Regions from separate parts of the Homo sapiens genome. Here region 1 is linked to region 2. The links are contacts of gene promoters, found by promoter capture Hi-C in blood cells and fetal thymus (Javierre and others, 2016). All regions are on one chromosome and are shown on one strand. Each heading gives the region's core, a stretch centred on a gene start or on the middle of the fragment in contact. The rest is flanking DNA. Distances are from core to core; before and after follow the strand shown. Region 1 overlaps COBL (cordon-bleu WH2 repeat protein). Region 2 holds the start of PKD1L1 (polycystin 1 like 1, transient receptor potential channel interacting).

Region 1 (6,356 bases), core at 3,461-5,960, 3.2 Mb after region 2:
TCATTTCTACAGATTTCAACTCCCCTAACCATAAATGAAGGAACACTCAGAAGCTCTACACCTATGGGGTAGTGTGTGTTAAACAGAGTGGTATCCAAGTCAGTAAACCTAAACAGAAAAACGTTATCTGCTCAGGACTATTTAAGCCCTCCTGTGTGAATTGCTTAGAACTGACCTGAAGCATCTACTCTAGGTCCCATTGTGATGGTTCTTACGGAAGGGAGCCTGCATCATCAGTAATGAAAATATCAACATTGACTTCTGCCAATCTCCATGCAACCAAGCAAAACACAGAGAGATCAAGGAAATTCAAATGCAACTGGGAATCATAGTTTCTCCATAAACCACTGTATTTTCAAAGAAATAAGCTTCATAAACACCTGTATTTATAATTTGCTTATAGTTTTTGCTATAAAGCTAGAAAATCATCCAGACGACATAGAACAGAAATTCATTGTGCTAAAAGAAAACAAATATCAAAGACAGTCCACTTAGGATATATCACTAAATGTTGATTTTTGTAGTTCAACCAAAATACTCTGCACACACACACACACACACAAAATTTACAAGCCAAGAAGGCAAATTAATTCCTTTCTTACCCTTTTATTTTTCTTGTTGTGGTTCTTTTCCTCTTTTTTATCTCCCCATGATGTCCAGACAGTAGTTATTCTTGTCCAAGTTTATCAAATTATCTCAGTTTGAAGCTCAGAGCCAATACTTCCGAAATGTCCCTTTCTGAAAGCTCACCGAAGTGTCTCTTCTGAAGGAGACATCAGGTTCCCCAGGAATCACCCAGCAGGAAGCATCACCCAGAATTATTCAGTTTTATTGGAGGCTGTCATTCAAAGGAGTTACGCTCACCATATAATTACAGATCCAGAATATATCATCTCGGATGGCAAACATTCTTAGCCAAGCAAATAAAAGAATTCTCTGATCCTTCTCACCCCACATGGAGGGTCAAATATTGAGAAATAGCTAGTCATTTGTTCAGGCTATTTTTAAACACACATTTCCAATGTACAGTCAATAAAAAACCACCCTTCACACACACACACACACACACACACACACACACACACACACACAATGAACTGTAGTTAAGGTGCACTTTCAAATCACTAAATGGAACTGCTGAAGAATGGGAACTTTCATTTCTTAACCCTTCTCCTTCCTCTCCCCCTTAAACTGTTCTGTACTTAAAATAGAAACACAGGTGCCCCTAAGCTGGATTCCCCTCTCAGAGAGGGAGCCACACAGCTGCATCCGCAGCTTAGCTGAGGCTTTGCCTTCTCTGTACAGACCTTCCTTCGCCCTTCTCACAAGGAGAACCGAGCCCTCTGACTCTACCTCCTCGCCAGGGCCTCAGGCTTGATTCTCCTATTGCCTCATCTGCCCCAATACCTCAAATCAGAGTTTTAACAAGGCCAGGGCTAGCCAGACACGGTGGCTCACGCCTGTAATCCTAGCGCTTTGAAAGGCCGAGGCAGGCGGATCACTTAAGGTCAGGAGTTCAAAACCAGCCTGGCCAACATGGTGAAACCCCATCTCTACTAAAAATACAAAAAAATTAGCCAGGCGTGGTGGTGTGGGCCTGTAATCCCAGCTACCTGGGAGGCTGAGGCAGGAGAACTGCTTAAACCCAGGAGGCAGAGGTTGCAGTGAGTCAAGATCATGCCACTGCACTCCAGCCTGGGCAACACAGCAAGACTCCGCCTCAAAAAAAATAAACAAGGCCCCTGGCAATGCCAGAGAATTTGGAGTTTCAGTAGCACCGGCAAGGGGTTCCTTGGTGTCTTCTGAGGGCAGGGGGTTGGCCTGGCTCCTCTGTGTGTCTCCAGTGCCCCCTGGTCTGCTGATGGGACAGACTCAAAGTGTGCCCAGGGCAAGTGGTTGGAGAGGCGAGTGTCTATGTGGGGAGGGATTTTAGTGGAGGCACTCTGCTCTCTTCTCCCTTTTCTTTTCTCCTTCTTTCTTTCCTTATTTTTTCCCCCTCAATATTCATTGTTCTTATTCTCTAAGTCAAAATTCAGACTTTGGAAAATAAATAATCACTTCAGGAAGTCTATTTATTGTACTATATGGTGACTATAACTACTAAGAATGTATTATATACTTGAAAATTACTAAAACGGTAGACTTTAAATGTTACCACAAAAATATAAGTATGTGAGGTCATGGATATGGTAATTAGCTTGATTTAGCTGTTGCACAATGCACTGATATATAATTTTTATTTGTCAATTGAAATAAACAAAATACAGACAATCATCACACACATTGTTAAAACATACAAAATATGCTCTGTGTTGTTAATGGACAGACAGCCTTTCACTATACTTCTTAAAATATAAAACTTTTAAAAGGGTTGCTGCCCCTGGGGAAGGAAGAAGAGAGCCAGTTGTTGTGTTAGAGAGGCAGTGTCATCTGTGTCTGCTGTGTTTCTTAGTCGTTAACAAAAAGACAATGCAGCAAATGTAGCTAAACACACATTAACATTTGTTAATGGTGGATGATTGATATGGGACTGTTTATTTATTATTCTTTTTATTTTACTATTTCTATGTATTTTCTATTTGTTTATTTTATTTATTTTACTCTGTAATCTACTATGAATTGGTACCATGCAAAATTTCAAAAAGGAGAAGAGACCCTCAAGGTGCAGTTTATGTTGAAAGAATGGAGAAGAATGGACCCAAACCTACCGGATGGCGGAAGGGCAGGGTCGGGGAGGAGCCTCCTCACTCACACGCGTCCACAGCCTGTAACCATCGCTCAACAGGAAGAAAAGGGAAGGACTATAGGTCCGCCTGGGACATATTTAAGATGCAGAAATCAAGAAAATGTGACAACCCTGGAAGAGGAAGCAAAGGTGGTGCTAGCTGAGGAGACAACAAGGGAGCAGTGGGGATTTAAGAAGATCCCAGTCTCCAGGGTAGAGGACGCATCCCTAGGGGCCCAGACCCTGGGGCAGGTGCCACTAGGAACAGAGCACGGTGGGAGGCTGGGAAAGTGTCCGCCCCTGCCCTTTTCCAGGGAGGAGCTGGAAAAGAATGCAGGCAAAAGTCGGGGAGGAAACACTCATTCCTAATGAAATGAAATCTGTAACATCAAATAAAAACAGGAGATGAGCGCGATGCTGGGACAAGCACACTGGCCTGAGCCAGGGGTGTCCATAGGGCGGGGGACAGGGAAAGCGAGGCACGGGGTGGGAGACAGGGAAGGCGTGGGGGACAGGGAAGGCACAGCGCCGGGGACAGGGAAGGCACAGCGCGGGGGTGCAGGGGCTGTGTGGGCAGGGAGGCGAGCTGAGAAACAGCAGCCCCAAGGGCCGACCCTGGGACTGCCAGTGTGTGGGACACCCTGTCTATAGTCCACTTCCTTTTTTTAAGAACCTGGATCAAGACACACGAAGAGCTGGCCAGGAGCTTGGAGGAGGGCAGCGGGGGCGGCGTTGCAGGCTCTCTGCAGCCCCCGGCCGCGCGCACCTGGCGGCCGCGCGCGCTGCGCTCTGGATGCCGCGTGAAACCGCAGGGCGCAAAGCAGGGAGGTGGGGAGGAGGCTTTGGAGACCACAGGTGCTGGGAAGTGGAGCCGCCAGGAGGCCTGGGCCAGGTGACAAGGCCAGGCTGTGTGAAGTGGTGAGATCCTAGATGTATCTTGAAGGCGACAGACGCTATGAGGGTTGCAGGTGGAGTGGGAGAGCAAAGGGGGCAAAGAGGACCCCAGGGTTCTGGCCCGAGGCACTGTGATGGCGGAGATGTCATCTCCTAGACAGGAAAGGATACCGAGGGACAGAGAGCTCTGCTTCTCACCTTCTCTGGTCTCTGAAGCAACTTAAATCCATGTGCAGGCAAGTGAGATTCTTGTTTTATACTTGTCTGACAAAGAGCAGGGGAAGGCCAGAAAGGAAACATAGACAGTGGAAATAATAGTCATGTTTTAGGGGAACATACGGAAAACCAGTATTTGAAAGGGACGTTTTCTACCTCAGTATCCTTACAAACATCACATTTTCAGCCAAGTGGTGAAAAATCTACATTTATTTTTTTCCCTCCGAGAACTGGTACTGGCATTAGGCCCTGTTTATCAACTCTTCAGGATCTATGTGTATACTACTCCCATTGTAAGAATCGAACACTCTGGGAAAAAAATTCATCAAAGCTTTAAAACCAAAACCCTCCTCTGATGGGTTCCAGGTTTGCATTAGAGATCATATGATAAGAATATTTTTAAAACTATTTTTTTGTTGTTGTTTTGAGACAGTTTCACTATTGTTGCCCAGGCTGGAGTGCAATGGCACGATCTCAGCTCACTACAACCTCCGCCTCCCGAGTTCAAGTGATTCTCCTGCCTCAGCCTCCTGAGTAGCTGGGACTACAGACACCTGCCACCACGTCCAGCTAATTTTGTATTTTTAGTACAGATGGGGTTTTGCCATATTGGTCAGGCTGGTCTCAAACTCCTGACCTCAGGTGATCCACCCACCTCGGCCTCCCAAAGTGCTGGGATTACAGGCATGAGCCACCATGTCTGGCCTATTTTTAATGGTCAAATAGGTATGGAAAGAACCTTAGAATGATTTTTCTAGATTACACATTAAGGTCTATTTACTTTCCAATAGTTGATAGGAGTTTTATATACACAAGGCTCTGAATCAGAAATGGAGAGTTGAGTGGCCATAATAACATATTGTTATTTGTTGTTGATGACACAGTCATCAAGGGAAACAATGCAGTAATGCCATAAAGTTGTCATATCCTTTGATTCACGAATACATTTGCAGGTGTCTTTCATAAAGAAAACCTCCCAAATGAAAAAAGGCTTTTGGGATAAAGTGACTTTCACATTACTTATACCAGAATAAAAGAAGCAATGAGCAACAGGGCCGAGCCAACCTTCATCGAGTGCTAGCTGTGAGCTCCTTCCTGTGCTTGGCACTCATTTAATCCTCATAAGAATGCTGGGTGCTGGTGATTATGAGCTCACGGTACACACGGGAAGACAAGGCTCTAAGAGGTCACAAACTGTATGTGAATAATTCAGAATCCAAATTCAAGCAAACAAAAACAAAAGCCACGCTTTTCCCTTTACACAGAAGATCATACAACCTTTAAAAGAACTATGCAGATACTGAGAAAGGCTCAGGAGAACAAGGAACAAGAAACTCTGTTAGACTTGTAGGCACTGGACATGATTCTCCTACTCTACTCTTAAAACCTGCCATATGCAATTTATTTTGTTTTGAATATAAAGCTTTTTTTTTTTTGAGATGGAGTCTCACTCTGTCGCCCAGGCTGGAGTGCAGTGGCGCAATCGAGGCTCACTGCAACCTCTGCCTTATAAAGCATTTTCTAAAGGTACAAGCTAAATTTTAAAAATATCTCTACACAACTGATGTATAACAAAAATTAGTTCTACCTCATAAACACGTGGCTCAGCCCTCGGAACACATTTTCCTGTTCTCAACTGATGAACACTCCAAAAACAGAACAGATTTGAGCTTTTCCAGGCCCAGAAAAGCTCGCGAGGGGATTTGCTGTGTGTGTGACAACACTGCCACCCTGTGGCAGCACAGCTCCACACATGCTTTGGGCCGCATTTGCAAGTTCTCTGTAATCCCCCTGGAGACCCGGATCAGCTGGGTGGAAATGCAGGCTCTCTGTAAGCATAGGACTCAGGGCAGCTGAAATTATGGAGTTTCCTTTAAAATGTAGCTTTTAATAACTTTTTCTGAAAATTTTATTTTACTGGTGGGCTTCCCTGTAAATGCCTGCCTCCAATACTGCAGAGGCTTCCATCAGAAACAACGCCACTCAACACGAATTCTGGAAACTTTTTTAGGGCTTTTGCTATGGAAATCACTTCAAATGTAAGCTCCGTCCATCTGTGAAACACTATAATGACACTATTTCTGTCACTGCCTGAACAGGGCAAATGGACAAAATGTCTCCAGACAGGTTTATTTTGTTGTTTGCTTGTTTTATAAGGCAGTGATTTTTAACTCTTTTACCAGAAGAACTTTAACTTTATGGTATCAAGAAATGCAGAGATATCTGATGAAGCATGTAGTAATACCTTTAGATTGGTCAAATTTATAGAATTTGGATTTTTTAAAAAACCAAGAAACCAAGAAGCAGGGCCCATAAAAGGCCAGTTACTTTCAAAAGTTCATTCTTCAGAGAAAGGCCTGCTAATGACTGGTCTGTTGTCCTGGTGAATAACAGAACCAGGATTAGAACCCACGTCACTTTACTCCTACATCAGAACATTTGCACTTTATCAGACTGATATAATAATTTCTTTTCCATTTTTGTGTGCTGAATTGCAAATTAACTCAGGTACCTTGTCTCA
Region 2 (5,795 bases), core at 1,363-3,862:
AACACCAGCCCTGGTTCCTGGGACATAGTTGGCCCTTGAGAAGTAATTTTCTGTCTCAGAAGGTGAGAAACACATCCCCAACAGGTGTGTCCTCCACTCACAGAGGCGCCAAGGATAGTGCTGCAAAGCTAATTTTCCTTGAGATTTCAGAGGTCTTTTCAAATAAAAAAAATGGAAGGGGGAGATAATTTAAATACAAGGGAGGCTCTTTTTCCTGGTGTTGTGAGGAGGCAGGTCCCCAGGCCCTGGCACAGAATCAGCACCATTTTCACAGAGGTACCTGGCTTCCTCTTAGTTAACTGTGACTGTCGGGGAACAGGATGATACTGATGGCTCAAACACAGTCTCTGAGGCATCATGTGCCTCAAGGGAACTAGTCGAGCCATTTGTTTGAATTACATGACAGATCTCTTAGAATCCCTTAAGAGTGAGTGTTTTTCGGGGCCTGTCAGGGGCTGGGGGGCAAGGGGAGGGAGAGCATTAGGACAAATACCTACCACACAAACACACACCACACACTCACACCACACCACACTCACACCACACAAACACACCACACAGCATCACACACAATATACACACACCACACAGCACATACCCACCCACCACACACACATCGCACACACCACACACCACGCACCACACAAACACACCATACACACAAACACCACACACACACCAACACATTACACACACATCACACAGCACACACCATGTATCACACACACACCATACCCCACTCATACCATACCACACATACACCACACACTACACACAGACCACACACCACACCACCCACACACATGTCCTATACCACACACACACACACAGACACTACAGGCCTAACTCCATGAAATGAGGGCTACAGGAGAGTCAAGAAACCTCTTCTGTTTCTATGAACAAGATCAGTCACTGTCTTGCTTTAGGTGACTCAGGAAACCCCAAAAGGCTATGACTTCAGAAATGGGGCCTCGACACCAATTACAATGGCTAGTGCGTGCATGAACTAGTTGGTCTGCAAGTACAAGATGTATAAATATACAGGGGAAAAAACATCAAGTCAGCGACTTCCGCTCCTCAGCTTTTCTTTCCTTTCTAAGGGCAAAGGGGTAATTCCTTGCAATTCCCTGACTGATAAGAGTGAAGGTCAAATTGGGCCAACATCAAGGCTCTGGGAGTCTGCAGGAGCATGGGCATTTGGAATAAAAGAAACATGAGGTAACCAGAAAAAATAAGGGAAAAAATTGTAGCCAAAATCAGACAATGCTTGGCAGCAGTGAGTGACATAAGGCAAAGAAATTTCCAAGCATGAATGTGACCAACCCCGTCAACACGTGCAGCCTCATTTTCTCATCCTGGTTTGCTTTGGGTTTCTTTGATAAAATGATGGTGATGGCACAAAGACAGTAAGCTAACAAAGGCAGAAATGCTGACAGCAAGCATTCATCAAGGATACTGATTTTTATAACGACCCTCTGGAGTTTACAGATGTGACAACAGGGGTACTCAGATTTTCAGGATGAGAAATCTGGGGGTGAGGAGGTAAAGTGACCTGCAGTGGCGGGGTACCCCACTGGGCAAGATCTGCAGGCACAGGCTCCCATCATGCCAGGCCAGGGGACAGCGGTGACCCACCTGGGTCCTTACCACATCCCACAGGCAGGTCACCTTGCTGGCCTCACGCCCAGGAAAGGGGGCATGGAGGTTTGCACCATGTCACACTGCCATGAGACAGTCAACAGCAGAGCACACAGGCTGCCCAGCCTCAACAACACATGGGTGCTGGCGCGCACAGAGCATGGGGAAGAGGGTTTAGAAATAAGACCCATGGAGGCTGGGTGCGGTGGCTTATGCCTGTAATCCCAGTACTTTGGGAGGCCAAGGCGGGCAGATCACAAGGTCAGGAGATCGAGACCATCCTGGCTAACACAGTGAAACCCCGTCTCTACTAAAAATACAAAAAATTAGTCGGGCGTGGTGGTGGGCGCCTGTGGTCCCAGCTACTTGGGAGGCTGAGGCAGGATAAATGGCATGAACCCAGGAGGCAGAGCTTGCAGTGAGCCAAGATCGCACCTCTGCACTCGAGCCTGGGCAACAGAGAGAGACTCCGTCTCAAAAAAAAAGAAATAAGACCCCTGGGCCAAGACCCCATGATCTCTTCCTGTGCCAGGTTTCTCCTGGTCTCCATGCAAGGGACCTAGCAGACAAGCAGATAGCTTAACTTTGTCTACTACCAGGCAGCAGAAAGTCCTCGAACTTGGAAGGTATCCTGCATTTGCAGGAAGAGCAATCAGCACTTCTCATGGCTGAAGGCATCCGCTTGGAGGAGTCTTCTCAAAAGCCTTCAGGAAAAAACTCCATTCTCAACACCAACTCCAACCTCTGAACTGACCCCGCCGGCCAAATGCACCCTCCTGGTACAGGGCCTCCACTCGTGCCAGAGTGAGCCCACATCCTAGAGGTGATGACTTTTGAAAGAAAATTTCTGAATGCATACTTTAAAATCAAGCTTACCAAACCCTCTGAGAACAGTGATAACTCACCTTTCCTGGTCATCAGAAATGTTCTGGGCTGCCTCCTCGGCCATGTCCTGTGCAAGCTGGTCACAAGTATGACAGTCAGCAGACCAGCTTCTTCCTACATCCTCTGGAAGACAAAGAAATAGAGCTTAATGCTTCCAGCTTCTGTACTTGTGACCTCTTATCAGGACACACATCAAACACAGAGGGAAAAATCCAAACTCCAGTAACATTTTCCCAAGCAGAAACAGCTTTTGTTTTCCTAACACTGTCAGACAAATTCCTTCCTAAGAAGTGTGCTTTTGACAGACGTGGTGGCTCATGTCTGTAATCCCAGCAATTTGGGAGGCCAAGGTGGGTGGATCACTTGAGGCCAGAAGTTTGAGACCAGCCTGGCCAATATGGTGAAACCCCGTCTCTACTAAAAATACAAAAATAGCCAAGTGTGGTGGCACACATCTGTAATCCCAGTTACCCAGGAGGCTCAGGCGAGAGAATTGCTTGAACCTAGGAGGTGGAGGTTGCAGTGAGACGAGATTGCACCACTGTGCAATAGAGTGAGACTCTGCCTCAAAAACAAAATGAAACAAAACAAAACAAAACAAAAGTGTGTTTTAGGTAGGGATCTTTGTGGCTGCCTGAAACAGATCACTACTCAAGGGAGAGACTGTACATGGAAGCTGAGAGAAGTCTGAGAATAAAAAGCTGTAACTGTTGGCTGGGCGCGGTGGCTCACGCCTATAATCCCAACACTTTGGGAGGTCGAGGTGGGCGGATCACGAGGTCAGGAGCTCGAGACCAGCCTGGCCAGCATAGTGAAACCCCGTCTCTACTAAAAATACAAAAATTAGCCAGGCATGGTGGCACGCACCTGTAGTCCCAGCTACTCGGGAGGCTGAGGCAGGAGAATTGCTCGAAACCGAGAGGCGGAGGTTGCAGTGAGCCGAGATCGTGCCACCACACTCCAGCCTGGGCAACAGAGCGAGGCTCTGTCTCAAAAAAAAAAAAAAAAAAAAAAAGCTGTAACTGTCCACAACTGCACTGGGGAACAGGATACCTTCCACAAGAGCAGAAGAGCATTCCTAAGGAAGGCTGGCAAGGCACACACTAGGCGCACTCTGTCTTACGGCAGAACCTAGGAATGATCTGGTTCCGAACCTCCTGCACCTCTCCTTGTTTGCAACTGGCGGGTCAGACTGAGTTCTCTCCATTACGAAACATTTTCTCTTATATTTTTAAAGCACTTGTTAGTTGTCTTAGTTCTTTATACCAACATTTAAACCTTCAGAGATTTTAGAAAACTTAATGTTTTACTCAGAACACTAGATATTTTTTCTCTCCACTCTGAAGAGAGTGATACCAAGAAGAGTGGGAACGTTTTCAGGCACAAGCTCTTTCTCAGATGGGAACACAGACCCCTTGAACAATGATGAACCAAGCTACGGGTGTCCGGCCTTGGATCCTGTGTTTTCTGGAACTTTGCTGCCAATGAGGTGAGTAACCAGAGCCCTGTGGTGGGTTAAGGGGCCTGCTGTTGACCTAACACACCTGTCTCCTGGGGCCTGCTGCCACCTCTGCTCTTCTCACACTGCCTTGTCAGTGCCTCTGGCTTTGTCCCCACTGTGCTTGTTGTGAGTAAATCTCAGATTTGGGGGAAATGCATACTTTCCAATTTCATTAGCAATACACTTTCAAATGCGCCTGTGACCAAGAAAAGGATAAACTGCAAACTGCAGTTTGTAAACGAACAAAATCCCTTCTTTCTGAAGCCCCTGTGATTTGCTCTGACACCTTCCTGTCAAATCTAAACAGAGTCCACTGGGTAAAGACACCTGTGCAACCCTGCCTGCTGGGCTGGCATCCATACCCACACGCACACCTGGATGCTCTGACCTTGCTGCTGCCTGTTCCTTCCTTGTGGGGCTGGACATCCTGAGAACAGGGCCTACATTTAAAGTTTGTGATGTTTTTGAAGCCAGCAGTGCTAACCAAAGATGCCAGGAAATGAGGAGGAGCAAAGAAAGTGACATAATTGAGGGAAGAAATATGCCTGCACTGCCCTACGTGGGAGGCACTCTCATAGCCACTCTCATAGCCACTCTCAGCTACTGGAGCTTAAGTTACTTACAATTAAATAGAATTAAGAATTAGCTGGAGAAACCCCGTCTCTACTAAAAATACAAAAAAATTAGCCAGGTGTGGTGATGCACGCCTGTAATCCCAGCTATCCAGGAGGCTGAGGCAGGAGAATCGCTTGAACCGGGGAGGCAGAGGTTGTGGTGAGCCAACTTCGTGCCATTGCACTCCAGCCTGGGCAATGAGCGAAACTCTTGTCTCAAAAAAAAAAAAAGAATTAGCTTTAGCTTCTCCATCATTAGCCATATTTCAAGGGCTCAGTAGCCAAGATACAAACTATACAATGTTTCCATCATTGCAGAACACCCTCGGGGCCAGCGCTGGGCTGGGCAGCCTCGCCTTTTTCCGGGCAGTGCGGCCAGCATTGTTTCCTCAGAGCAGCTGCATCCAGACAAGGGAGGGGTTCCCAGTTCATCTACATTCTTGGGCCATACTCCTCCACCTGGGGTTTGCCGAGCACTGCACTGGTACAACAGGGAGCACAACACAGAACCAAACTCACTGCTTCCCTCCCGAGGACGGAGGGGTGTGCTGCTTAAGGTGAGACGTGGATGCAGCCAAGCAAACTGGAAAACGTCGAGTTTTGAAAACTGCTTTAAGTAAAAATATTCTGAATAAAATTAGGTAAATGGCTTCCAAATATGGCCCATTTTAAGAAATCACTATCTAAGCTCCTCATTTAGAAACAAAGACTCGATCAGGATTTTGACTCTCCTTATGACCTTGCTGAAAGGAGGAAAAAACACAAGAAAAATCATTTCTTTGCATGAAATCAATGTGCAAGGACGGAACCCCCTGGCTGGAAGAGATCCTGGGAGGTCTTTCCCTTTGTCTTCATTGTTTTAAACAAAAGCCACCTCCTTAGAATTTGTTTTTAAGCCACATTCTGTATTTCAGATTTAATACTTAGTTTCTAAAACTGCTTCTTAGGTAATAGTTCACTTAGTCAACCCCTGCCTTACTCCACAGACTTAAGGTGTTTAGTATGCACATAGTTCAGAATGAATACCTGAAAGTAGGTAGCACTGCCTGAAGACTTTCAGTAGTCAAAGTAGAAAAGCAAACACAGGTGTTTACACAGTTCACAGTGTAAAAAGGCACAGAGCTGCAGTTTACACAGCACAGGGTTCCTCCTCAGAT

What was found. Contacts are between HindIII fragments. The CHiCAGO score rates a contact against its expected background, and 5 or more counts as called.
Region 1: a contact is called between a fragment that was not itself captured here and the fragment with the promoter of PKD1L1 in region 2, in 1 of 17 cell types (naive B cells). The highest score is 8.9, in naive B cells.

What each region holds. Positions count from the first base shown.
Region 1 is chr7:51,155,651-51,162,006 of GRCh38, forward strand. All of the region lies in intron 5 of COBL (cordon-bleu WH2 repeat protein), which reads right to left. Among named protein-coding and RNA genes, the nearest start is that of COBL, 160 kb to the right of the region's middle. RefSeq lists an enhancer at 5,382-5,676. The HindIII fragment of the contact is 1,092 bases long and covers 4,165-5,256 here.
Region 2 is chr7:47,945,854-47,951,648 of GRCh38, forward strand. It overlaps PKD1L1 (polycystin 1 like 1, transient receptor potential channel interacting), which reads right to left and starts at 2,613. Exons shown (of 57, transcript NM_138295.5): 1 at 2,544-2,613. The coding sequence starts at 2,587. RefSeq lists an enhancer at 5,690-5,795. The HindIII fragment of the contact is 5,981 bases long and covers 2,508-5,795 here.